4 separate regions of the Homo sapiens genome follow, and all the other regions are linked to region 2. Evidence: promoter capture Hi-C in 16 types of primary human blood cells and fetal thymus (Javierre and others, 2016). All regions are on one chromosome and are shown on one strand. Each heading gives the region's core, a stretch centred on a gene start or on the middle of the fragment in contact. The rest is flanking DNA. Distances are from core to core; before and after follow the strand shown.

The links. Contacts are between HindIII fragments. The CHiCAGO score rates a contact against its expected background, and 5 or more counts as called.
Region 1: a contact is called between a fragment that was not itself captured here and the fragment with the promoter of FBXO42 in region 2, in 1 of 17 cell types (activated CD4 T cells). The highest score is 5.3, in activated CD4 T cells.
Region 3: a contact is called between a fragment that was not itself captured here and the fragment with the promoter of FBXO42 in region 2, in 1 of 17 cell types (fetal thymus). The highest score is 5.3, in fetal thymus.
Region 4: a fragment that was not itself captured here is called in contact with the fragment with the promoter of FBXO42 in region 2 in 1 of 17 cell types (activated CD4 T cells); the score reaches 5.2 in activated CD4 T cells.

Annotation. Positions count from the first base shown.
Region 1 is chr1:15,605,845-15,612,515 of GRCh38, reverse strand. It overlaps the pseudogene LOC124904764, the pseudogene RNU7-179P and the pseudogene CD24P1. Among named protein-coding and RNA genes, the nearest start is that of DDI2, 8.3 kb to the left of the region's middle. The HindIII fragment of the contact is 1,771 bases long and covers 398-2,168 here.
Region 2 is chr1:16,350,566-16,356,833 of GRCh38, reverse strand. FBXO42 (F-box protein 42) reads left to right here and starts at 4,354. Exons shown (of 10, transcript NM_018994.3): 1 at 4,354-4,579. RefSeq lists an enhancer at 4,315-5,089. The HindIII fragment of the contact is 4,914 bases long and covers 1,080-5,993 here.
Region 3 is chr1:15,823,403-15,830,459 of GRCh38, reverse strand. It overlaps the pseudogene RPS16P1. Among named protein-coding and RNA genes, the nearest start is that of UQCRHL, 19 kb to the right of the region's middle. The HindIII fragment of the contact is 2,551 bases long and covers 4,410-6,960 here.
Region 4 is chr1:15,577,205-15,584,308 of GRCh38, reverse strand. AGMAT (agmatinase (putative)) reads left to right here. Exons shown (of 7, transcript NM_024758.5): 2 at 914-1,116; 3 at 4,167-4,215; 4 at 5,255-5,450; 5 at 6,445-6,624. Among named protein-coding and RNA genes, the nearest start is that of AGMAT, 4.3 kb to the left of the region's middle. The HindIII fragment of the contact is 2,557 bases long and covers 2,345-4,901 here.

The DNA of each region.
Region 1 (6,671 bases), core at 34-2,533, 740 kb after region 2:
AGCCCTGGAGGTCAAGGCTGCAGTAAGCCATTATCATGGCACTCCAGCCTGGGTGACAGAGCAAGATCCTGTCTTAAAGTTTAAAAAAGCTTCCATCGGCTGGGTGCAGTGGCTCACACCTGTAATCCCAGCACTTTGGGAGACCAAGGCGGGTGGATCACAAGGTCAGGAGTTCAAGACCAGCCTGGCCAAGATGGTGAAACCCCATCTCTACTAAAAATACAAAAAATTAGCTGGGCACGGTGGCAAGTGTCTGTAATTACAGCTACTCGGGAGGCTGAGGCAGGAGAATCGTGTGAACTCGGAGGGTGGAGGCTGCAGTGAGCTGAGACCGCACCACTGCACTCCAGCCTGGAAGACAGAGTGAGACTCCGTCTCAAAAAAAAAAAAAAAAGCTTCCATCATTCTATAAATCCTCAATGTATTATTTCAGCAGTACTAATTTAATGCCAATATATTAAGTTTTACATTGTTAGGCTATCACTGTTCTTTTGGTAACTGAATTCTTTTTCCTCTGAGGATTTGGATTTGACATTGCATTTGACCTTTTATTTAGTAATTGACATGTGCCAGGGCAATGATAGACTGCAATCTACCCCCAAGTCCAAGCATCATCAATAACTCTTGTTTATCCTTAGAGAGTCAAATGGTAGGCATTTCATTTCACCTATTTTCGTTCAACAAGGACACCAGATTCATTAAGGGGCTGGGTGCGGTGGCTCACCCCTGTAATCCCAGCACTTTGGGAGGCTGAGGCAGGTGGATCACTTGAGGTCAGGAGTTCGAGACCAGCCTGACCAACAAGATTAAACCCTGTCTCTACTAAAAATACAAAAATTAGCTGGGCATGGTGGTGTGCCTGTAATCCCAGCTACTCAGAGGCTGAGATAGGAGAATTGCTTGAACCTTAGAGCCAGAGGTTGCAGTGAGCCAAGATCATGCTACTGCTGTCCAGCCTGGGAGACACAGTGAGACTCCATCTCAAAAAACAAAAAAAGATCTGTTTTGAAGGTAAAATTATAAACCTTGAAATTAAAAGGGCAAAAATGTAAAGGAGCCAAAAACTGTATATCAAGTATTTGGAAAGTAAAGACTGAAAGTTAACTTGCATTAAAGTCACAAAAACTTTTATACTCTTTTCTTTTTCTTTCTTTCTTTTTTTTTTTTTTGAGATGGAGTTTCACTCTTGTTGCCCAGGCTGGAGTGCAATGGCATGATCTTGGCTCACCGCAACCTCCGCCTCCCAGGTTCAAGCGATTCTCCTGCCTCAGCCTCCTGAGTAGCTGGGATTACAGGCACGCACCACCACGCTCGGCTAATTTTGTATTTTTAGTAGAGATGGAGTTTCTCCATGTTGGTCAGGCTGGTCTTAAACTCCTGACCTCAGGTGATCTGCCCGCCTCAGCCTCCCAAAGTGCTGGGATTACAGGCCTGAGCCACCGTGCCCAGGCTATACTCTTTTTCTGTAAATGCTTTTTGCAAACAACAACTATGGATCAGAATAGCTGCATTTAAAACACATTTTGGGGCTTTTTTTTTTTTGAGACAGAGTCTTACTCTGTCGCCCAGGCTGGAGTGCAATGGAGCGATCTTGGCTCACTGCAACCTCCGCCTCCCAGGTTCAAGTGATTCTCCTGCCTCAGCCTCCCGAGTAGCTAGGATTACAGGTGCACAACACCACACCTCGCTAATTTTTGTATTTTTTGTAGAGACGGCATTTCACCATGTTGGCCAGGATGGTCTTGAACTCCTGACCTCGTGATCTGCCCACCTCAGCCTCCCAAAGTGCTGGGATTACAGGCGTGAGCCACCGCACCCAGCTGGGGCCTTTTTTTTTAAGAGACATGGTCTCACCCTGTTACCCAGGCTAGAGTTCACTGCGGCCTCAACCTCGTGGACTAAAGCAATCCTCCTGCCTCAGCCTCCCAAGTAGCTAGCACTACATGCGTGTGCCACCATTCCCAGCGAATTTTTATCTTTTTGTAGAAATAGGAGTCTTTCTATGTTCCCAAGCTGTTCTTGAACTCCTAGGCTCAAGCAATCCTCTTACCTCATCTCCTAACGTGCTGGGATTACAGACATGAGCCATCATGCCCTGTTTGAAACACATTTTGTTATGTCAATATTTTTAGATAGTTAGAACCTGGTCCTAAACCGCAAAGTAAGCTTGATTCTGTAATAAAAATGTTTACAACTGTCTTGACACACAGAAACCTTTTTAAAAATAGACACTCCCTGAAGTCCTTTGTTCACAAGGTCACACACTGATGCTTATGTGTTCCAGCATCTAATATGGCCACAGTAGTCTTTTTTTTTCCATCTTTAGAAACCTACACGGGAACAGCAGATGGAACAGATCTGAACCCACTCCACTGTGTGTGTGAATGAACACTCCCTTTTGCTCCATGCCGAAATGCTGTACATCTATTTTGGATTGTATATTTGTGTGTGTATGCTTTGATTCATAGTAACTTGTTATGAAATTGATTTGTATTGAATACAAACTGCAAATAAAAATAAATCAATGGCTGAAAAAAAGTCAGTACAGCTTCTCCGTGATTCTCTTGGAACGCTTGCTCTTGGAACCCAGCAGCCATGCTGTGAGGAAGCCCAAACTACACCACACGGTGAGACCGCATGGAGAAAATACGTGTGGTTGTTCCAGAAAGCTGCTCAGCTGAGGGGAAAGCTGATTAGCGGGAAAACTCACCAAGCACAGAAGTGAAGACACTTTCAGATGACTTCAACCCCCAGATGTTGAATCATCTCCAACTTATGAGTCTTTCCAGATGAGGCTTCAGACATTATGGAGCCGTCTCCACTGTATTGCCTTTGAATTTCTGACCTACAGAAACTATAAGCATAATAAAATAAAAATACAAAGTAAAACCAAAATGAGATACCACTTTATGCTCACTAGGATGGCTATAATAAAAAAGACAGAGTTGGGCGTGGTGGCTCATACCTGTAATCCCAGCACTTTGGGAGGCCAAGGCAGGCAAATCACTTGAAGCCAGGAGTTCGAGAGCAGTCTGGCCAACACGGTGAAACCCCATCTCTACTAAAAATATAAAAATTAGGCCGGATGCGGTGGCTCATGTCTGTAATCCCAGCACTTTGGGAAGCAGAGGAGGGCGAATCCCGAGGTCAGGAGTTCGAGACCAGCCTGACTAACATGGTGAAACCCCGTCTCTACTAAAAATATAAAAATTAGCTGGGCATGATGGTGTGTGCCTGTAATCCCAGCTACTTGGGAGGCTGAGGCAGGAGAATTGCTTGAACCCAAGAGGTGGATGTTGCAGTGAGCCGAGATCGTGCCATTGCACTCCAGCCTGGGTGACAGAGTGAGACTCCATCTCAAAAAAATGAAAATAAAAAAATAAAAATTAGCCGGCTATAGTGACATGCGCCTATAACTCCAGCTATTCTGGAGGCTGAGGCAGGATAATTGCTTGAACCCTGGAGGTGGAGGTTGCAGCGTGCCGAGAATGTGCCACTGCACTCCAGCCTGGGGGACAGAGGGAGACTCTGTCCAAAAAGATACTCAAAAAAAAAAAAAAAAAAAAAAGGCAGATGATAACAAGTGGTGATGAGGATGTGGAGAAATAGGAACCCCTAATAGACTGCTGGCGGGAATGTAAAATGGTGCAGCCACTTTGGAAAAAAGTTTGACAGTTCCTCAAAAAGTTAGACATACAGGATAGGCACAGTGGCACATGCCTATAATCCCAGCACTGTGAGACTGAGGTGGGAGGATCACTTGAGCCCAGGAGTTGGAACCAGCCTGGTTAACATTATGGGACCCCATTTCTTAAAAAAAAAAAAAAAAAAGGTGGGGGGGCCAGGTGCAGTGGCTCACGCCTGTAATATCAGCACTTTGGGAGGCTGAGGCAGGTGGATCACTTGAGGTCAGGAGTTCAAGACCATCCTGGCAAACACGGTGAAACCCTGTTTCTACTAAAAATACAAAAATTAGCTGGGTGTTGTGGCACACGCCTGTAGTCCCAGCTACTTGGGAGGCTGAAGCAGGAGAATTGCTTGAACCTGGGAGGTGGAGTTTGCAGTGAGCCGAGCTTGCACCACTGCACTCCAGCCTGGGAAACAGAGCAAGACCCTGTCTTAAAAAACAGATAAACAAGCAAACAAACTTAGACAAAGAGTTACCAAATGATCCAGAAATTCTACCCCCCAAAATATACCCAAGAAAATAAAAATATATATCCACGCAAAAACTTGTACATAAATGTTCATAGCAGCATTAGTCGTAATAGCCAAAAGTAGAAACAAGTATCCATCAACTGATGAATGGATAAATAAAATGTGGTATATCCATATAAAAGAATATTATTTGGCAACCGAAAAAGAAGTATTAGTGCTACAGTTCTTTTAGAATTTGTCTAGCAGGGCCAGGCGCGGTGGCTCACGCCTGTAATCCCAGCACTTTGGGAGGCCGAGGCGGGTTGATCACGAGGTCAGGAGTTCAAGACCACCCTGGCCAAGATGGTGAAACCCCATCTCCACTAAAAATACAAAAAATTAGCCGGGTGCAGTGGCAGGTGCCTGTAATCCCAACTACTCAGGAGGCTGAGGCAGGAGAATCATTTGAACTCGGTGGGCAGAGGTTGCAGTGAGCCAAGATCGTGCCACTGCACTTCAGCCTGGGTGACAGAGTGAGACTCCATCTCAAAAAAAAAAAAAAAAAAAAAAAAAGAATTTGTTTAGCAGGTTTTCTGGTCTTCACTGGAAAGCCCCTTTAAAAAAATTAAAATAAAAGTATTGATATATACTATCACATAGATTAACCATGAAAATGTTATGCTAAGTTAAAGGAGCCAGTAACAAGAGATATATACTGTATGAGTCCAATTATATGAAATATCCAGAAAAGGCAGTCCATAAGAGACAAAGTTTATTTTATTTATTTATTTATTTTTGAGGAAAAAAAATAAAACCTGCCACCACGCCCAGGTAATTTTTTTTTTTTTTTTTTTTTTTTTTGCGATGGAGTCTTGCTCTGTTGCCCAGGCTGGAGTGCAGTGGCGTGATCTCGGCTCACTGCAAGCTCCGCCTCCCGGGTTCACGCCATTCTCCTGCCTCAGCCTCCCGATTAGCTGGGACTACTGGTGCCCACCACTGCGCCTGACTAATTTTTTGTATTTTTAGTAGAGAAGGGGTTTCACCATGTTGGCCAGGTTGGTCTCAAACTCCTGACCTCAGATGATCCACCTGCTTCAGCCTCCCAAAGTGCTGGGATTACAGGTGTGAGCCACCGCACCTGGCAGACAAAGTTTATTAGTGGTTGCCTAGGGCTTGTGGAGAATCGGGGGATGGCAGTATATGGGAAGTGACTGCTAATGGGTATAGAATATCTTTTTGGAGTAATGAAAATGTTCTAAAATTGATTTGTGGTGTTTGTTATACACACCTGTGAATATACCAAAAACCACTGAATTGTACATTTTATTTATTTTTTGAGACAGAGTCTTGCTCTGTTGCCCAGGCTAGAGTGCAGTGGCGCGATCTCGGCTCACTGCAACCTCCGCCTCCTGGGTTCAAGTGATTCTCTTGCCTCAGCCTCCCTAGTAGCTGGGATTACAGGCATGTGCCACCATGCCCGGCTTCTTTTGTATTTTTTAGTAGAGAGAGGGTTTCTCCATGTTGGTTCGGCTGGTCTTGAACTCCCAACCCCAGGTGATCCACCCACCTTGGCCTCCCAGAGTGCTGGGTTTACAGGCGTGAGCCACTGCGCCCGGCTGAATTGTACATTTTAAATGGGTGATTTTGTGATATGTGATTTAATCTCAATAAAGTTGTTAAAAATTAGTTTTGAAAAGTTCACACTGGCTGTTGAGAATGGGTTGTACCGGGCAAAAGGAGAAACACAAAAATGTTAATGGGGCTAGAAAGGTGGTGACAAAAGAGAGAGAAGCAGGTGAATTAGAGAGATACTTTGAAAAGTCAACAGGACTTGCCAATGGGTTGGACCTGGAGAATGAGGGAGAGGGAGGAATGACTTCTGAGTTGAGGGAAAGTAAACCCAAGAAATGATACACGATCAATAAATCCCAGTATCCAAGAAGTACTCTGTGTTGTACTAGGATTCAGATCCAAGATTCAACTCCTTGGAATGGGTTAGGGTTGGATTTAGGATATTTTACAACACCCTCCCACCTAGATCCAACAAGCTTTTGTGGCAGACCCGCCTGCTCACAGTTCTGCTCACTGAACTCTCCCCACCACCCCCTGCCTCTCTTAAGAGAATCACTTCTGTAGCAGAGTTCCCACAGCTCTGCCCCTCAGCTGCTTTCCTCTTGGGCCTCACCCCTTTTGGACTCTGCTCAATAGCGTCTTGGGATCTGGCTCAGAGTGTAGACTCCTACTTTTCTCATCACTCTATGAGACACACTTTGAACCTCCATTACCTGTGACCATAAATGGCTAGAGATATTTCCAGTCCTTAATTTTAAGTCAGGATGGGGTGGAGTGGAGGTTGAGAGCAGGGAGAGCTCAGAAACCAGAATCCTGCTCTAGACCAGCAGTGCTACCAAGAAGAATAGGTCCCATTTATCGATCAACGCTGTGCGTCAAGCACCTTCCAAATGATTGCTAACATTTCCAAATATTGACTTTGTGCCGGACACTCTTCTAAGCACTTTATGTGTATTGAGTCA
Region 2 (6,268 bases), core at 3,105-5,604:
TTTAATTTATTTTTGTAGAGATGGGGTCTTGCTATCTCGCTCAGGTTGATCTCAACTCCTGGCCTCAAGTCAGCCTCCCATGTCAGCCACTGAAAGGGTTGGGATTACCAGCGTGCAACACTGCAACTGGCCATGGAACCTGCATTTTTACTTTTACTTATTTTTTTTTTTTTGGAGACAGAGTCTCACTCTGTCACCCACGCTGGAGTGCAGTGGCATGATCTCAGCTCACTGCAACCTCCACCTTCCAGTTTCAAGTGATTCTTGTGCCTCAGCCTCCCGAGTAGCTGGGATTACAGGCACATGCCACCATTCCTGGCTAATTTTTGTATTTTTAGTAGAGACGGGGTCTTACCATGTTGGCCAGGCTGGTCTTGAACGCCTGACCTCAAGTGATCCACCTGTCTTGGCCTACGAAAGTGCTAGGATTTTTTTTTTACTTTTTTTTGTTACTTTTACTTTTTTTTTGAGACAGAGTCTCGCTCTGTCACACCAGGCTGGAGTGGAGTGATTATAGCTCACTGCAACCTCAAACACCCTGGCTCAATCAATCCTCCTACCTCAGCCTCCCAAGTATCTGGGACTATGCAAGCTACTCTGGAGGCTGAGGTGGAAGAATTGATTGAGCCCGGTTGGAAACTTCCTTCCTCAAAAAAAAAAAAAAAGTAGCATTTAATAGCTGGTCCAGTGTTTCCAATATTGAGCTCTACAGGATATTTGGAGGGGGAAGAGTGGAGTTGGTCACAAGTTCTAGTAATTTTTTTTTTTTTTTTTTGAGACAGTCTCGCTCCGTGGCCCAGGCTGGAGTGCAGTGGCACAATCTCAGCTCACTGCAACCTTCACCTCCTGGGTTCAAGCAATTCTCCTGCCTCCACCTCCCGAGTAGCTGGGATTACAGGTGTGTACCACCAAGCCTGGCTAATTTTTTGTACTTTAGTAGAGACAGGGTTTCAGCATGTTGTTCCCATGGTGGTCTCGAACTCCTGAGCTCAGACAATCTGCCTGCCTCGGCCTCCCAAAGTGCTAAGATTACAGGTGTGAGCCACCGTACCCGGCTCAGTTCTAGTAATTTTTAAGCTTGAGGTTTTTAATGACATGATTTAAAAACTAGATTTAAAAACCAGATTTAAAAATATTTCCTTTACCAGTTATAATTGCCCAATTTCTCTTTTGCAGTAAAATTTCCTAGTTGAAAGACTTGATTTTCTTTATCTTTTCTTTTCTTTCTTTTTTTTTTTTTGAGAGGGAGTATCGCTCTTGTTGCCCAGGCTGGAGTGCAATGATGCGATCTCGGCTCACCACAACCTCCACCTCCCGGGTTCAAGCAATTCTCCTGCCTTAGCCTCCCGAGTAGCTGGGATTACAGGCATGTGCCACCACGCCTGGTTAATTTTGTATTTTTTTTTTTAGTAGTGATAGGGTTTCTCAATGTTGGTCAGGCTGGTCTCGAACTCCCGACCTCAGGTGATCCGCCTGCCTCGTCCTCCCAAAGTGCTGGGATTATAGGCGTGAGCCGCCGCGCCTGGCCAAAACATGATTTTCTTAAATCAATGTTTCTCCCACTGGGATTCCCTGAGTGTATCCCTAGGGGACTTTGCATTATTCAGGTTTGAAGAACGTAAGAATATACTGCTTTCTATTTATTTATTTGAGATGGGTTCCCTCTATCACCCAGGCTGGCGTGCAGTGAGGTGATGATAGCTCACTGCAACCTCCAACTCCTGAGCTCAAGCAACCCTCTGCCTCTGTCTCCCAAGTAGCTAGAACTACAGGTACACATGCCACCATGTCCAGCTAATTTTTCAACTTTTTGTAGGGATGGGGTCTTGCTATGGTGCCCAGGATGGTTTTGCATTCCTGAGCTCAAGCGATCCTCCCCTCTTGGCTTCCCAAAGTGCTGGGCTGACAAGTATGCACCACCGCCTCTGGCTCATACAGCTCTCTATGGGTAAGGGTGACCCAAGTCTGCTCAAAGAGGCCTTGCCCTCCAACTTGAGGGGAACTTGGCTTCTGGCCCAGCCCTATGCCCCATGAGATTTCCTAGGAGGAAACTTTGTAAAATATTTGAAGAGATTTATTCTAAGCCAAATATGAGTGACCATGGCCCATGACACAGCCCTTGGGAGATCCTGAGAACATGTGCCCAAGGTGGTTGGGAAGCAGCTTGGTTTTATACATTTTAGAGAGACATGAGACATCAATCAAATACATTTAAGATATATTAATACAGGGCCAGGTGCAGGGGCGTATGCCTGTAATCCCAGCACTTTGGGAGGCCGAGGCGGGTGGATCAACTGAGGCAAGAGTTCGAGACCAGCCTGGCCAACATGGTGAAACCCCGTCTTTACTAAAAATACAAAAATTAGCTGGGTGTGGTGGCACATGTCTGTAATCCCAGCTACTCAGGAGGTTGAGGCACGAGAATCGTTTGGACCTGGGAGGCAGAGGTTGCAGTGAGTGGAGATCACACCACTGCACTCCAGCCTGGGCGAAGAGTGAGACCCTGTCTCAATAAATACATAAAAAGGCCAGGCGCCGTGGCTCACACCTGTAATCCCAGAACTTTGGAAGGCCGAGGTGAGTGGATCACGAGTTCAGGAGTTTGAGACCAGCCTGTCCAAGATGGTGAAACCCCGTATTTTCTACTGAATTTTGTATTTTCTACTGAAAATACAAAAATTAGCTGGGCACGGTGGCGGGCGCCTGTAATCCCAGCTACTCGGGAGGCTGAGGCAGGAGAATCGGTTGAACCCAGGAGGCGGAAGTTGCAGTGAGCGGAGATGGTGCCACTGCACTCTAGTCTGGGCGACAGAGCAAGACTCAGTCTCAAAAAAATAAACAAATAAATAAAAATAAGTAAATAAATAAATAAAAACTACATTGGTTCGGTGCAGAAAGACCGGAAACTTGAAGTGGGGGCTTCCACATTATAGGCAGATTTAAACATTTTCTGATTGGCAATGAGTTGAAATAGTTATTATCAATAGGCCTGGTGCGGTGGCACACGCCTGTAATCCAAGCATTTTGGGAGGCCGAGGCAAGTGGATTACTTGAGCTCAGGAGTTTGAGATGAGAGTGGACAACATGGCGAAACCCTGTGTCTACAAAAAAAATGGAAAAATTAGCCAGGCATGGTGGTGCCCGCCTGTAGTCCCAGTTACTCAGGAGGCTAAGGTAGGAGGATAGCTTGAGCCTGAAAGACAGAGGTTGCAGCGAACCAAGAACTCATCACTGGACTCCAGCCTGGGCAACAGAGTTAGACCCTGTCTCAAAAAAAAAAAAGTTATTATCAATAGAAATGAATGTCTGGGTTATGATAAGGGATTGTGGACACCAAAGTTTTATCACGCACGTGAAGCCTCCAAGTGGCAGGTGGGCTCCAGAGAGAACAGATTGTAAATGTTTCTTACCAGTCTTAAGGTCTGTTGTGTTGATGTCAATGCTGAAGGATGTAATGAGGCATGTCTCATGTCCTGCTTCCCGTCATGGCCTGAACCAGTCTCTCAGGTTGGTTACATTTTAGACTGCCCTGGCCTAGGAGGAAGTCCGTTCAGATGGTTTGGTGTTGGGGGGGGGGTGGGGGCTTAGTTTTTTGTTTTGTTTTGTTTTGTTTTTTTGGCTTACAGAGTTTAGACTGAAGCCTTTGACTCTGTATCTGGCATTTCCTTAGACCACATGCTGTAGGGCTGGGCTCATGAAGGTTCTCACCTACACACCAGGTTGCTCCCTTGAGAAGGGGGACTTTGCTGGATCCTATAACCTAGCTAGTAGGAAGTAAAGGAGCTTGGGAACCAGACAAGCCTGAGTTTAAATCCTCTTTCCCGCGCCGCCCCACCTCCACTGATAGGTGTGTGACTCCGGGCAAATAAGTGATCGTTTTCTGTGCCTCAGTTTCCTCATCTGAAAAGTGGAGCTAGTAAGAACTCACAGTGGTTGCTACGAGGCTACGGTTAAGGGAAGACTTCTCCTGCACACCTCAAGCACAGTTTCCCTCCCCTTGGCGATATCCAAGAGCACTCACATCCGCCACAGCCCTCTCTGCTCATCGGGCCCTCGGGGTAGAAGTGAGTTAATTCCTGGCTAAATGTTAGTCTCAAACCACCGGGAAAACCACCCAGTTGCCCCAGACAGTGCAGCGGAGGGTGGGTGCGGCTATCAGGTCGACGCTAGAGACGCGGCGAAGGCGGGTGCGGAGGCCTAGCTCCCCCGAGCGCATTCCACCCTCCACAGAACCTCGGCCTGTGACCACGGCCTTTCTCAACACTGCGCCGCCCCCTGGCCGCCCCTCGCCATCCCGCCGCGCTGACGTGAGTGCGCGCGCGTCCGCCGCGCCCGCCCCGGCGCATGCGCGCTCTGCGCTGTCTTCTCCCGGCCTGAGCAGCAGCAGCTGCGGCGGCGGCGGCGTTTGAGTGGAGGAAGATGGCGGCTCCGGGCGGCTCGGGGTCCCGCCAGCTGTGAGGAGCCCCGAGCACGGCTGTCGCGGCCTGAGGCAGAGCGCCTCTGCTCTGGCCCTGTCCCTGGCTCCCTCATTACCGTCGCCAGCGGAGCGAACCCGAGAGCGTGGAGCGGGCTGGGCCAGGTGAGGCCTCTCCTCCTCCCCGGGCCGCAGAGGGGAGCCGGCGCCTTCTGCCCTTTATGCCCGGGACTGGCAAGGGGCAGCGGGCGCCCGGGGTCTGACGCAGGCCCCGTATCCCACGCGGGGGTCGGTCCTGGTTGGGCAGGGTGACTTGCTATCGCCGTCCTCGAGTGAGGCGAGGAGGAGGACAGCTCCTTTCCAGCCAGCCCTTGGGTTGGGAGCGAACCCACCCCCTCTCCTCAGCAGGGTGGTTCTCGTCCCCTCACCCGGGCAGTGAAGGGGTGTGTGGCCCGGGCAAGGATGGCTTTAGGGTGTCAGGTAATCTTTCATCGCTCCTCCGAACATTTCACTCCTTTGCGAGAGAGGAGTCGGGGGTCGGGTGCCCATCAAAATTGGGGCTGCGGCTGGGGGCTAGCATCTCTGAACCTGCAGCTGCAAAGGGATAATTTTGGAATTGGTTTACGTTAAATAAAACACAAAAGGCCTTTCCTATCCCCTAGCTTGTTGAGTGTTCCCTTAGAGAAATGGGAACTGCGGATCTCCTTGCTTGAGACAGCAATCCATGCTGTGACTGTGGAAGGCTTCTCTTGGCGAGAATTGTGTGTGCAAAGGGAACGGTGGAGGGTGGGAACGAATTTGTAAGCGAAGAGAAAACGATTGTGAGATCTTGATGGTCGCTGCAGAGTAACTTCAGCGCTGAGTTCGTTTGAAACCTTCGGTTTGTTAAGATTCAGAATAACCAATTGCTTTGTCTGTTAAATCTCCCGATTTCTGTTAGGAAAATAAAAGCCTCATTTCTTAATTGCCAGAGTCTGGATTTTTCTGTGGTGGGATTCTGATCGATCTAGATGAAGATTCTGACACATTACCAGTTTTACTTGCTGGCAGTTGCTGGCCCCGACGTTGAAACTATGTTGTTCCTTTTTGAGAACAACTTTTATTGCTGTTTAAATGCTAATTGGGAGACTTCGATTGTGTTTCTGTCATGTAGGGAAGTCGGTTTGAAGCCTTGTGGTCTCTTTCTTGAGGAATGATGGCTTCACTGAACTTGTGCTATGCAGAATTGTTGAGGCGATTGCTTTTGCTTGGACACACCAAAATATCTTTTGTAACAAATTGGCTTTACTTCTGCTTAAGAATGATGACATCATGGATTTAAAGAGGCAAGGAAAATTTGGGGGAAGTACCATCATTTAGAATTGAATATTTAGAATTAAGTCTGTATATCTTATGGCCATTAGTGATGCTGTGTTAAATTGCTAACTTTGAGTGTATTCACGTGTGTAATCTGATTGGGTGTCTTTTCTATTGTATGTTGTCATTTTATACCCAGTAACTGTTTGCTTTTGACAAGCCAGTATAAATAGATGATTCAATCTACATTGATCCATAGGCATGTTGCGTATCTTAAAAAGCTTTTCATTGTTAAAATGACAACTGTTTAGGTTATTATTTGACCATTTTCTTTCTTTCTTTCTTTCTTTCTTTCTTTCTTTCTTTTTTTTTTTTTTTTTGCAGTTTCTCACTCTGTCATCCAGGCTGGAGTGCAGTAGCACAGTCTCGGCTCTCTGCAATCTCCATCCCCTGGGTTTAAGCGATTCTCCTGCCTCAGCTTCCTGAGTAGCTGGGATTACAGGTGTGCGCCACCACGCCCGCTAATTTTTTTTTTTTTTTTTTTTTTTTTGTAATTTT
Region 3 (7,057 bases), core at 4,436-6,935, 530 kb after region 2:
AAGATCCCTGTTCTCATGGAGCTTACCCCTGGTGGAGGAGAAGGGAGACAGACAATAAGGAAATTAAATAATAAAAGTGGCAAGTGCTATAGTGAAAATACAGTGAAGGATAATAGAGATGAAGCAAGTCTTGCAATTTTAAATGAGGTGGTTAGGATAGGCCTCAAGAAGGAGATGGTTTTACTTTTATTTGTACTTTTTTAGAGAAAGGGTCTCGCCGTCACCCAGACTGAAATGCAGTGGTGTAATGCTAGTTCACTGCAGCCTCTAACTCTTTGGCTCAAGTTATCTTCCCGCTTCATCTCCCCAAAGTGCTAGGATTACAGGTGTGTGACATGGCGCCCCAACAAAGAGATAATTTATGAATGAAGATTTGCAGGAGCTAAGGGAGCAAATCGTGGATATCTAGGGAAGAGACTGCAAAGGGAATCGTAAATGAAAACACCTTCAGGGAGGAGCAAGCATGACTGGCACATATGAAATAGAGGAAGGAAATCAGTGTGGTTGAAATAGGATGGTCATAGCTGGGCGTGGTGGCTCATGCCTGTAATCCCAGCACTTTGGGAGGCAGAGGTGAGAAGATTGCTTGAGGCTAGGAGTTCCAGGTCAACCTGTGCAACATAGCGAGACTGGTCTCTACAGCATGTTACAATTACCTGGGCGTGGTGTTGTGCGCCTTTAGTCCCAGCTACTTGGGATGCTGAGGCAGGAGGATTGCTTGTGCCTGGGAGTTTGAGGTTACAGTGAGCTATGATTGCACCACTGCACTCCCACCTGGGAACATGGTGAAACCTCGTCTCTACAAAAAATATAAAAGTTATCCAGGCATGGTGGCGTGCACCTGTGGTCCCAACTACTTGGGTGGGAGAATTGCCTGAGCCTGGGAAGTGAGTCGAGGCTGCAGTGAGCCTTGATTGAGCCACTGCACTCCAGCCTGGGTGACAGTGAGACCCTGTCTCAAAAAAAATAGAATGGTCAAGACGGGGGTATAGGATGAATGTCAAAGAGTCAGAGGAGTGTGTGGGGCAGATCTGTAGAACCTGGTAAACTGTAATAGGTTTTTATGGCTTTTAATGATATGACAGGTTTTAGAAGGATTGCCCAAAGTATTGAAAATAAGAGGCCCTGGGCCCTGTAATACCAACACTTTGAGAGGCCGAGGTGGGCGGATCACGAGGTCAGGAGATCGAGACCCTCCTGGCTAACAGGGTGAAACCCCGTCTCTACTAAAAATACAAAAACAAAATTAGCCGGGCGTGGTGGAGGGGGCCTGTAGTCCCAGCTACTCCGGAGGCTGAGGTGGGAGAATGGGTGAACCCTGGAGGCAGAGCTTGCGATGAGCCGAGATTGCGCCATTGCACTCCAGCCTGGGCAACAGAGCGAAAGTCCGTCTCAAAAAAAAAAAAAAAAAAAAAAGAGGCCCAGGGTAGAAGCAGGAGCCAAATGAATCGGCCATATCAGTAATCCAAGTGAAGGGGAGGGTGGCTTTAATGACCAAAATATATCCTGGAGATACATATAGAGAGAGAGAGAGATTTTTTTTTTTCAGATGGAGTCTTGCTCTGTCACCCAGGCTGGAGTGCAGTGGCATGATCTCGGCTCACTGCAGCCTCTGCCTCCTGGGTTCCAGCGATTCTCCTGCTTCAGCCTCCTGGGTAACTAGGATTACAGGCACATGCCACCACACCTGGCTAATTTTTGTGTTTTTTGTTTTGTTTTGTTTTTTAACTTTAAAATCCCTCAAAAACTGTTTATTATACAGGTGAATTTTGATAGTCATGATGGGCTTATCGGTAGGATTTCTGGTAGCGAGCATGGGCACCAGGGCCTCCAAACTTTTTGGACTCCCGGCAACGAGGATCAGCTACCAGCAGGGTCTGGTCATACTGGATGAGGATGTCTTTGATCTCCTTCTTGGAAGCCTCATCCACATATTTCTGGTAGTAGGCCACCAGGGCTTTGGAGATGGACTGATGGATAGCATAAATCTGGGCCACGTGACCACCACCCTTCATACGGACACAGATGTCCACACCAGCAAACCGCTCCTTGCCGAGAAGCAGAACTGGCTCCAGCAGCTTGTATTGTAGCATGCGCAGCTCAATCATCTCCAGGGGCCACCCGTTCACCTTGATGAGACCATTGCCGCGTTTGCAGTGCGCCACAGCTGTGGCTGTCTTCTTGCGTCCGAAGACCTGCACCGACTGCAGCGGGCCCTTGGTCGGCATGGCTGCGGGCGTGGACTAGAGTGAGTGTGTTTTTTTGTTTGTTTTGTTTTGTTTTTTTGTTTGAGACGGAGTCACACTCTGTCGCCCAGGCTGGAGTGCAGTGGTGCGATCTCGGCTCACTGCAACCTCCGCCTCCCAGGTTCAAGCTATTCTGCCCCAGACTCCCAAGTAGCTGGGATTACAGGCATCTACCACCACGCCTAGCTAATTTTTGTATTTTTAGTAGAGACGGGGTTTCACCATATTGGCCAGGCTGGTCTCGAACTCCTGACCTCACGTGATCTGCCTGTCTCAGCCTCCCAAAGTACAGGGATTACAGGCATGAGCCACCGCGCCTGGCCGTTTTTTTTGTTTGTTTGTTTGTTTGAAACAGGGTCTCACTCTGTCGCCGAGACTGGAGTGCAGTAGTGCAATCTCGGCTCACTGCAACCTCCGCCTTCCAGGTGCCTCAGCCTCCTGAGTAGCTGGGACAACAGGTGTGTGCTACTACTGCCTGGCTAATTTTTTTTTTTTTGAGATGGCGTGTCACTCTTGTCGCCCAGTGTGGGCGACATCATGGCTCACTGCAACCTCCACCTCCCGGGTTCAAGCGATTCTCCTGTCTCAGCCTCCCAAGTAGCTGTGATTACAGGCATGTGCCGCCACGCCTGGCTAATTTTTTGTATTTTTTAGTAGAGATGGGGTTTCACCGTGTTGGTCAAGCAGGTCTCAAATTCCTGACCTCCCAAAGTGCTGGGATTACAGGTGTGAGCCACCGGGCCCTGGATATATTTTAACAGTAAATCCAAGCAGACTTTCTGGTAGGTTGAACCTGGGATTGATAAAAAGAGGAGGCAAGGATGAGCCAAAACATTTTTTGACCTGGGCAACTAAAAGAGTTGTAATGAAGGAGGACTGGATAGAGCAGTTCTGCAGGGGAAGAGCAGAAGTTCAGTTTGGGCATGTTCAATTTGAGGTGTTTATTAGATATCAAAGGGAGACGCTGGTGGGCTATTGGATATATGGGTCTTGATTTAGGAGGAAGTTCTGGAGATGTATATTTTTATATATGCCCTTTTTGTATATTATGTATATTTGTGTGTGAGAGAGTTATCCTATATATAGCTAGCATTTAAAAGCCTCAAACCGGATGAGATCACTAACATAAATATAGAAGGAAATAGGATAAAGGAAGCCCTGAAGCACTCCACTGTTAAAAGGTCTGAGAAGAAGGTTTGCAAAGCAGGATGAGAAGGAACAACCAGTTAGGTCGGAGGATAACCAGGAAAGGGTGGTGTCCAGGAAGTCAAGAAAGTGGAGCAGGTGGCCTGGCAGGGTGGCTCACACCTGTAATCCCAGCACTGTGGGAAGCCGAGGCAGGCATATCACTTGAGGTCAGGAGTTCGAGACCAGCTGGCCAATGTGATGAAACCCTAACTCTACTAAAAAAACACAAAAATTGGCCAGGTGTGATGGCTCATGCCTGTAATCCCGGCACTTTTGGAGGCTCAGGCGGGCAGATCACCTGAGGCTGGGAGTTCGAGACCAGCCTGACCAACATGGAGAAACCCCTCTCTACTGAAAATACAAAATTAGCTGGTTGTGGTGGCGCATGCCTGTAATCCCAGCTACTTGGGAGGCTGAGGCAGGAGAATCGCTTGAACCTGGAAGGCAGAGGTTGCGGTGAGCTGAGATTGTGCCATTGCACTCCAGCCTGTGCAACAAGAGTGAAACTCCATCTCAAAAAAAAAAAAAAAAAAATTAGCTCGGCTTGGGCAGGGCTCGGTGGCTAACGCCTGTAATCCCAGCACTTTGGGAGGCCGAGGCGGGCAGATCACGAGGTCAAGAGTTCGAGACCAGCCTGACTAACATAGTGAAACCCCGTCTCTAGTAAAAATACAAAAATTAGCCGGGAATGGTGACGCACAGGAATGCTGGCTCGACAGGCTGAAGCAGGAGAATTGCTTGAACCCGGGAGGCGGAGGTTGCAGTGAGCCGAGATCGCACCACTTCACTCCAGCCTGGATGACAGAGTAAGACTCGGTCTCAAAAAAAAAAAAAAAAAAAAGTGAAGGGAATGGTCAACTATGAAATGCTGCTGAGAGATTAAGCTGAGGCATGAAAATTGAGTGTTGTATGAATAAGTGGAAGTCATGGGTGACCTTGACACAAGCTGTCTGGGTGGAGTAGGAGGCAAAAGCTTGATTGGAATGGATTGAAGAAAAAAAAAAAAAAAACAGTAAGTATGACCTTTGGAAAAGTCTGACAGTGAGGCTTAGAGGGGAAGATGCCAGAGACTGTGATGTTGGAAAGTACCTTCTGTTTTAGGAAGTTCCTGGGTCAGTGCAGCAAGAGGGAACTCAAAACCTTAGGGCTTCTGGAGGAATTGTTACACTCCCAGGATGTGGTCTCCTTCTACCCTCATATCTGCTCCATGATAACATGAATAATAAATTATTTCTTGGCTGGGAGAACTCCAGCTCAAAAGATCCTGCTGCCTCTGTCTCCCAAAGTACTAGGATTACAGGCGTGAGCCACTGTGCCCGGCTGTATTTTTCTTTACTTTTTTTTTTTTTTTTTGAGACAGAGTCACGCTCTGTCACCCAGGCTGGAGTGCAGTGGCCTGATCTCTGCTCACTGCAACCTCTGCCTCCCAGGTTCAAGTGGTTCCCCTGCCTCAGCCTCCTGAGTAGCTGGGATTACAGGCATGTGCCACCACACCCGCTTAATTGTTGTATTTTTAGTAGAGACGGGGTTTCACCATGTTGTCCAGGCTGGTCTCGAATTCCTGACCTCATGACCCACCTGCCTTGGCCTTCCAAAGTGCTGGGATTACAGGCGTGAGCCACCGCACCCAGCCATAATTTTCTTTTTAAAAGACTTTCTTCCCCCATATTGGACCCTGCTCTAGTTCTACCACATCCCAGTGAACAACAGTGAAATAAAAAGATTGTCTACGTGCTTAATTTGAAAACGTGGGTTGGGCACGGTGGCTCACACCTGTAATCCCAGCACTTTGGGAGGCCGAGATGGGTGGATTGCCTGAGGTCAGGAGTTCAAGACCAGCTTGGCCAACCCGGTGAAACCCCATCTCTAATAAAATACAAATATTAAGGTTGGTCGCGGTGGCTCATGCCTGTAATCCTAGCACTTTGGGAGGCTGAGGCAGGCAGATCACCTGAGGTCTGGAATTCAAGACTAGCCTGACCAACATGGAGAAACCCCGTCTCTACTAAAAATACAAAATTAGCTGGGCGTGGTAGCTCATGCCTGTAATCCCAGCTACTCGTGGGGCTAAGGCAGGAGAATCACTTGAACCCAGGAGGTGGAGGTTGCAGTGAGCTGAAATCGTGCCACTGCACTCCAGCCTGGGTGACAGAGTGAGACTCCGTCTCAAAAAAAAAAGAAAAAAAGGAAAACAGATATATCACTTTGGGGTCAAGCTCCACCTTCAGAATTTCATAAATTTTTTTTTTTTGAGACGGAGTCTTCCTCTGTCACCCAGGCTGGAGTGCAGTGGTGCAATCTCGGCTTATTATAGCTGCAGCCTCCCAGGTTCAAGCAATCTTCTGCCTCAGCCTCCCAAGTAGCTGGGATTACAGGCATGCGCCACCACAGGCGGCTAATTTTTTTTTTTTTTTTTTGAGACACAGTCTAGCTCTGTCACCAGGCTGGAGTGCAGTGGCGTGATCTCGGCCCACTGCCACCTCCACCTCCCAGGTTCAAGCGATTCTCCTGCCTCAGTCTTCTGAGTAGCTGGGATTACCAGCACGTGCCACTGCGCCCAAGTAATTTTTGTATTTTTAGTAGAGACAGGGTTTCACCATGTCGGCCAAGATGGTCTCTATCTCCTGACCTCGTGATCCGCCCACCTCAGCCTCCAAAGTGCTGGGATTATAGGCGTGAGCCACCGCGTCCAGCCTCATTTTTGTGTTTTTTAGTAGAGAAGGGGTTTTGCCATGTTGGCCAGGCTGGTCTCGAGCTTCTGACCTCCAGTGATCTGCCTGCCTCGGGCTTCCAAAGTGCTGGAATTAGAGGCATGAGCCACCCAACCCAGCTCACCTTCAGAATTCTATGTACTGATAAATATAATCAAAAGTCAAGTCCAGGCTCGGTGGCTTACCCCTGTAATCCCAGCACTTTGGGAGGCCAAGGCAGGTGGATAACCTGAGGTCAGGAGTTCAGGGCCAGCCTGGCCAACATAGTGAAACCCCATCTCTACTAAAAACACAAAAAATTTCCTGGGTATGGTGGCACGCCCCTGTAATCCCAGCTGCTCCGGAGGCTAAGGCAGGAGAATTGCTTGAACCCAGGAGGCAGAGGTTGCAATGAACAGAGACCACACCATTGCACTCCAGCTTGGAAAACAAAAGTGAAACTCCCACTCAAAAAAAAAAAAAAAAAAAAAAACAAGTCAAAATGTGTATTTTCTTTTTTTAATCATCCGGCTCAGCCTCCTGAGTAGCTGGGACTACAGGTGATGCCACTACACCCGGCTAATATTTTGTATTTTTGATAGAGATGGGGCTTCTCCATGTTGCCCAGGCTGGTCTCCAACTTCTGAGATCAGATGATCCACTCACCTGGGCCTCCCAAAGTGCTAGGATTACAGGCGTGAGTCACTGTGCTTGGCCAATTTGTATTTTCAATGTATTACTTTATCATTCTTTATTGGAACATGTGATTAAATACAGATATAAAGTATCATGTATATTTTATCCTGCAACATTTATGCCTAATAGCTATTGAAGCTTTTTTTTTTTTTTTTTTTTTTGAGATGGAGTTTCACTCTTGTTGACCAGGCAGGAGTGCAATGGCACGATCTCTGCTAACTGAAACCTCCACCTCCA
Region 4 (7,104 bases), core at 2,374-4,873, 770 kb after region 2:
AAGCCGGGCATGGTGGCGCGGGCCTGTAATCCCAGCTACTCGGGAGGCTGAGGCAGGAGAATCGCTTGAACCCGGGAGACGGAGGTTGCAGTGAGCTGAGATTGCGCCACTGCGCTCCAGCCTGGGCAACAGAGTGAGACTCCGTCTCAAAAAAAGAAAAAAGAAGGGATTCTGGAGCCTGAACCTTCTCTGTGTCCCCATCCTGGGGCCTTGCTGGGATGGCTGCTGTGGATTCCTCCCCTCTCCTCTCCCCAGCTTACAGTGGCAGGTGACATTGCATTTGAGAGCAGAAACTGGCTGCCCCTTCCCCAAATCTGAAGATGTCACCTGACTCAAGAAATGCTCAAATGAAGGCAATTTTCCTAGGATCAAGTCGGAGGAAGCAAAATTCATCTTCCTAGTTATTGAACGTCAGCAATTTCTGATTCAGCTCAGCAACACTATATCTGACCGTACTGATCTGAATTATGAAAGCCAGCACTTATTAAATGTCTCCTAAGTGCAAGGTGCTTTGCATAGATTACCTCATTTAATTTTTACTACAGTGCAAGGTAAATATTTTACAAATTAGGAAACTGAGACTCAGGTAGATCATGAAATTCACTAATGCCATTTAGTACACTTATTTAGTCTCTTCGATACATAGCCTAGATCGGTGATTCTCAAGTGGGGCGGTTTTGCACTCCGGGGACATTTGGCAGTATCTGGAGGCGTTTTGGGTTGTTACACCTTGGAGGAAGGGTGCTACTGGCACCTAGTGAGTACAGGCCGGGATGCTGCTAAGCATTCCATTATGCAATGCCGCGACACGGAATCATCTGGCCCCAAATTGCTGAGGCTGAGAAGCCCTGGCCTAAGCAAAGCCTGAAATCTCTGCAGATGATGGCTGACAGGATGATTCTTCCTTCTGCAGATTCGGACCTCGCCGCATCCGGGAAGAATCAGTGATGCTTGGGACAGTCAATCCTAGCACGGGGGCCCTCCCCTTCCAGTCCCTCATGGTTGCAGACCTAGGCGATGTGAATGTCAATCTTTACAACCTTCAGGACAGCTGCCGGCGAATTCAAGAGGCCTATGAGAAAATTGTAGCAGCTGGCTGTATTCCTCTGACCTTGGGTAATGTCAGTCTGCAAGAGCCAGAGTAGTTCCCTGCACTCAGGGTTTACTTATCCTGTACTCAGGGGCTTGAGTACAGCTACTTCTCCCCTGCAAGCCACTGCAAATGTGCAGACAGTAGGAAAGAGAGCATTGTAATTCATTTATTTTAATCCCTGGGGAGAGAATATTTCACGTGTGTGTGTATGTGTGTGTGTGAGACAGTCTCACTCTGTTACCCAGACTGGAGTGCAGTGGTGCAATCTCGGCACATTGCAACCTCCACTTCCTGGGTTCAAGCAATTCTCCTGCCTCAGCCTCCCAAGTAGCTGGGATTACAGGCGCCCACCACCATGCCTGGCTAATTTTTGTATTTTTGGTAGAGTCGGGGTTTTGCCATGTTGGCCAGGCTGGTCTTGAACTCCTGACCTCAAGTGATCCGCCCACCTTGGCCTCCCAAAGTGCTGGGGTTACAGGCATGAGCCACCGCGCCTGGCCAAGATGATGTTTCTAATGACTTTATTTGCGAGGAGAACTGCAAAGAGGGTGTTTTTGTCCTGCTCAGGGTCTACATCAACCTATAGGGCAGCTTTCCCCTTATCCTCACCCCTGACCCACTCTCACTTTTTCTCTTGTTCACAAATACTTAAAATGACAGGGATCTTTTCCTAAATATCCAAATTCATTTTTGCCAAGTTAGAGAGCCTAGCCTGCATGGCATAGTGGGAGGAGTGTGGTTTCCCGATGGCATGGTTTGAAGTCTCAGCTGCACTTCTCCCTAGCAATGTTGCTGTATACCGTGCTTGATGCTTCACACCCTCACCTGTAAGATGGGAATGATCACAGTAACACCTACTCACTGCATGATGTGAGGGGCATATAATGAAAGTGCACATGAAATGCCCAGCATCAAGCATGGCATATCTTTTTTTTTTTTCTTTTTTTTTGAGACAGAATTTCACTCTTGTTGCCCAGGCTGGAGTGCAATGGCACGATCTCGGCTCACTGCAACCTCCGCCTCCCGGGTTCAAGCAATTCTGTCTCAGCCTCCTGAATAGCTGGGATTATAGGCGCCCGCCAGCATGCCCGGCTAATTTTTATATTTTTAGTAGAGACGGGGTTTCATCATATTGGTCAGGCTGGTCTCGAACTCCTGACCTCAGGTGATCTGCCCACCTCGGCCTTCCAAAGTGTTGGGATTACAGGCGTGAGCCATTGCGCCCGACCTATGCATGGCATATCTGAAGCTTCAATAAATGTTAACTGTTATTATTATCAGAAAGAATACTTTCCTAGGTCTGTGCTGTCCAGTAAGGTAGCCACTAGCCACATGTGGCTACTTAAATTCTTTTTTTTTTTGAGACAGAGTTTTGCTCTTGTTGTCCCGCTTGGCTCACGGCAACCTCCGCCTCCTGGGTCCAAGTGATTCTCCTGCCTCAGCCTCCTGAATAGCTGGGATTACAGGCGCGTGCCACCACGCCCAGCTAATTTGTTGCATTTTTAGTAGAAATAGGGTTTCAACATGTTGGCAAGGCTGGTCTCGAACTCCTGACCTCAGGTGATCCGCCGCCTCAGCTTCCCAAAATGCTGGGATTACAGGCGTGAGCCACCACGCCCGGCCTAAATTCAAATTAATTAAAATAAAATATTCAGTTTCTTAAGTCATATTAGCTACATGTATGTCACATGTGTGTCACATGTGGATAGTGGCTACCATATGGGCCAGTGCAGATAGAACATTGTCATCATCATAGAAGGTTCTATTGAACAGAGCTATTCTAGGCATTTTCCTAGAATACTGTGAAAAGGCAATTCCTAGAGTAGCTCTTAACTTGTCTAATTTCCTCTTTTATTTATTTATTTTTGAGACACGGTCTCACTCTGTCACCCAGGCTGGAGTGCAGTGGTGCCGACATGGCTCGCTGCAACCTTGCCCTCCCTGGGCTCAGGTGATCCTTCCACTCCAGCCTCCCGAGTAGCTGGGTCTACAGGCGTTTGTCACCATGCCCAGCTAATTTTTGTATTTTTTGCAAAGACGGGGTCTTAATGTATTACCCAGGTGGACCTTGAATTCCTGGGCTCAGGCGATCTGCTTGTCTTGGCCTCCCAAGGTGTGAGCCACTGCGCCTGGTCTATTTTTATTTTTATTTTTTAGAGACGTGGTCTTGCTGTGTTGCCCAGGCTGGTCTCAAACTTCTAGGCTCAAGCTATTTATTTATTTATTTTATTTTATTTTTTGAGATGGAGTTTCACCCTTGTTGCCTAGGCTGGAGTGCAGTGGCGCGATCTTGGCTCACCGCAACCTCCGCTTCCTGGGTTCAAGTGATTCTCCTGCCTCAGCCTCCAGAGTAGCCGGGATTACAGGCATGCGCTACCATGCCCGGCTAATTTTGTATTTTCAGTAGAGACGGGGTTTCTCCATGTTGGTCAGGCTGGTCTTGAACTCCCAACATCAGGTGACCTGCCCGCCTTGGCCTCCCAAACTGCTGGGATTACAGGCATGAGCCACCGTGCCCAGCAAGCTATTCATTTTTTTGAGATAGTGTCTTACTCTGTCGCCCAGGTTGGAGTGCAGTGGCACGATCACAGCTTACTGCAGCCTTGACCTCCCAGGCTCATTCAGCATCCTGCCATTCTATAAGATCTTACTGTAGCTGTGGTTATAACTCCCCCCAGGCTGAAAGGGTGAAAATTGAGTTAAGATTATTCAGCTGGGCATGGTGGCTCATGCCTGTAATCCTAGCACTTTGGGAGGCCAAGGCGAGTGGATCACTTGAGGTCAGGAGTTTGAGACCAGTCTGACCAACATGGTGAAACTCCGTCTCTACTAAAAATACAAAATTAGCCAGGTATGGTGGTACACACCTGTAATCCCAGCTACTCGGGAGGCTGAGGCAGGAGAATCGCTTGAACCTGGGAGGCAGAGGTTGCAGTGAGCCGAGATTGTGCCATTGAACTCCAGCCTGGACAACAGAGCAAAACTACATCTCAAAAAAAAAAAAAAAAAAAAAAGATTATTCTATGTAATCCTCCAATTCACTTTCCAGATGTTTTCTTCTTCCTCTTTGCAGGTGGAGATCACACAATCACATATCCCATATTGCAAGCGATGGCAAAAAAGTAAGTCTCAAATGGCTTGGGCCCAGCAAGATTTCAAAAGCCAGAAGCTAGGGAATGAGTTATTTGCTGTTTGGTGGCATTAGGTGACTGCTGCTGGCTCAGGTTATGAGCTGCTTCTGGGGATCAAAATTAAGGTTGAGCTCCAGGTGTCTCTGTCAGTCAGCAGCTAGAAGCCAAGACAATTTATTATTAACAGTTCTGGCCACCCTCCCTTGCCCTAGATCTCTCCTGGTATGTGTGCTCAGCATTTTCAACTTGCTTCTGTTTTTGGAAGATGAGCCTCTAGTGAAATACACAACCTCAGTTAACTTCAGTTTCTGTTTTGCTTCAATGGCCAAAAACAAACACTGACAGGCACAATGGTGGACCTTGCTGAGAGGCCCTTGTTTCCTCCTGAAAGGGCACCTTTCTCAATCAAAAGACTGATTTGCCAGTAGTGGAAGTCTACCCAGGATTGGCCGACTTTGGCTAATTTAGTTTGAGAAAGAGACAGAAGGACCCGGGTGGAGGGTGGCAGCTCCAGAATGTGTCTGTGGAAGCACATGTGGGTGGCATTCTGGTTGGAGGTGGGAGGGTGCAGGTCTTTGCTCAAAGCTGCATTTATTCCTCACGGATTTGGATCAGATGTTTATTTTGGGTGGCTGGCAGGGGTTGATGGAGGTTATGGAGAGAGCTGGATTAAAGCTTCCTCTTCCTCGGTTGGAGAAAGGGTGTGTCTTGGTTTAGTTAAGCCTTCAGCCAAGCTCCCCTGTGCCACCACCCTTGATTCTCATCCTGTCTCTAAGTGAAGCAAATTCTGGGTGATAGGTGTGGGTGGCAGCCAAAACATGTCTATTTCCTGCCTGACTTCTGTGAGTTTATTGTTCCTCTGAGATGCAAAGTGATCTCAAGAAGACAGGAACCAGTTGCAAGGCAGAAAACGGATGCCAGGTCTCCCCTTTTTGGCTGTGAATTGTCACCAAGTTTTGGTGGCCCGAAGGGTGGCTGTGCTAGGGCCCCACAGGGAGGGTTGGCCTCTGAGCTGCCCTGTTGTCATCAGGCATGGCCCAGTGGGGCTGCTGCACGTGGATGCGCACACGGACACGACCGACAAGGCCCTAGGAGAGAAGCTCTACCACGGGGCGCCCTTCCGCCGGTGTGTGGATGAGGGTCTCCTGGACTGTAAGCGTGTGGTGCAGATTGGCATCCGGGGCTCTTCCACGACCTTGGATCCCTACAGATACAACCGGAGCCAGGTGACAGACCGAATGCCCCCCACCCTTGCCCCTCAAAATGTCTTCCTCTCCGTTGCCTCACCAGTGGCAGCCAGGGATTGAGCGGGGGCTTTACTAATCAAGTCTGAAGCAGGGATACAAGGCTGAGTTTGCATCATCAGGGGCATAAGGAGCATAGGAGTGAGGAAGTTGGTTTATGGGCCATGGGAAGTCTATCGCTGGGCGGGGGAGACAAGCAGAAATCGACCAACCCCTCGGACGGTGCTGGCTTAGAAGAGGGGAGGAGGCCGGGCACAGTGGCTCACACCTGTAATCCCAGCACTTTGGGAGGCTAAGGTGGGTGGATCACCTGAGGTCAGGAGTTCGAGACCAGCCTGGCCAACATGGTGAAACCCCGTCTCTCCTAAAAATACAAAAATTAGCCAGGTGTGGCGGTGCGCACCTGTAATCCCAGCTACTCGGGAGACTGAGGCAGGAGAATTGCTTGAACGTGGGAGGTGGAGGTTGCAGTGAGCTGAGATCGCGCCACTGCACTCTAGCCTAGGTGACAAAGTGAGACTCCATCTCAAAAGAAAAAAAAAAGAGGGGAGGAAGTCCGGACCCAAGATGAGTTGCCACCTTCTTAGTTCTGGTCCTCGTACCCTCTAGGCAGAATGGCTCTCAGATAGACGTGTATGACAAGACCCCAATGGAACAGACCCAAATCCCTTGCTTTTAGAGCGTGCCAAGGCCAGTCTTCTGGACAGAGCAATTCAAAAGGTGCTAGCGTGAGCTGCTGTTTCCCACTCTTGCTTTAGCAAAGCTTCTCTCTGATTCCAACTCCATCAGTCAGCTTTGACCCTGCTTCCTTACCACTCATTGTCCCTCCCTTCCTCACCTGTAAAATAGGATAGTTCCCTCTTCATGGAGATGGAGGGTCAAGTGTCATGTGCACACAGAGCTGAGCATGGGGCTGGCAAACAGGAAATGCCCTGTAAATGCTGCCAGACAGAAACCTCAGTCCCTGTCTCTGCAGGGCTTCCGGGTAGTCCTGGCTGAAGACTGCTGGATGAAGTCGCTGGTTCCTCTGATGGGGGAAGTCAGGCAGCAGATGGGAGGCAAACCCATTTATATCAGCTTTGATATTGACGCTCTGGATCCTGCCTATGCGCCAGGGACAGGGACACCTGAAATTGCTGGTCTCACTCCTAGTCAGGTAAGGAGATTCCACCAGTGAAGATCCTGGGGGTGGAGACACTTAACACCCATTTTCCTGGGACTTGAAGCGAATCTTTAGGAATCAGGATAGGATTTTTGTTTGTTTGTTTGAGACGGAGTCTCACTCTGTCGCCCAGGCTGGAGTGCAGTGGTGCGATCTCGGCTCACTGCAACCTCCGCCTCCCAGGTTCAAGCGATTCTCCTGCCTCAGCCTCCTGAGTAGCTGAGATTACAGGCACATGCCACTACGCCCGGCTAATTTTTGTATTTTTAGTAGAGATGGGGTTTCACCATGTTGGTCAGGCTGGTCTTGAACTCCTGATCTCGTGATCCACTCACCTCGGCTTCCCAAAGTGCTGGGATTACGGGTGTCAGCCACCGCGCCTGGCTGCCAAGGTAGGATTTTAAGAGCAGAGCACCTAGGCCTTTTCTGTTCTCTGGGCTGAGGATAAGTTTGAATACCCTCTTACTGAAGGGT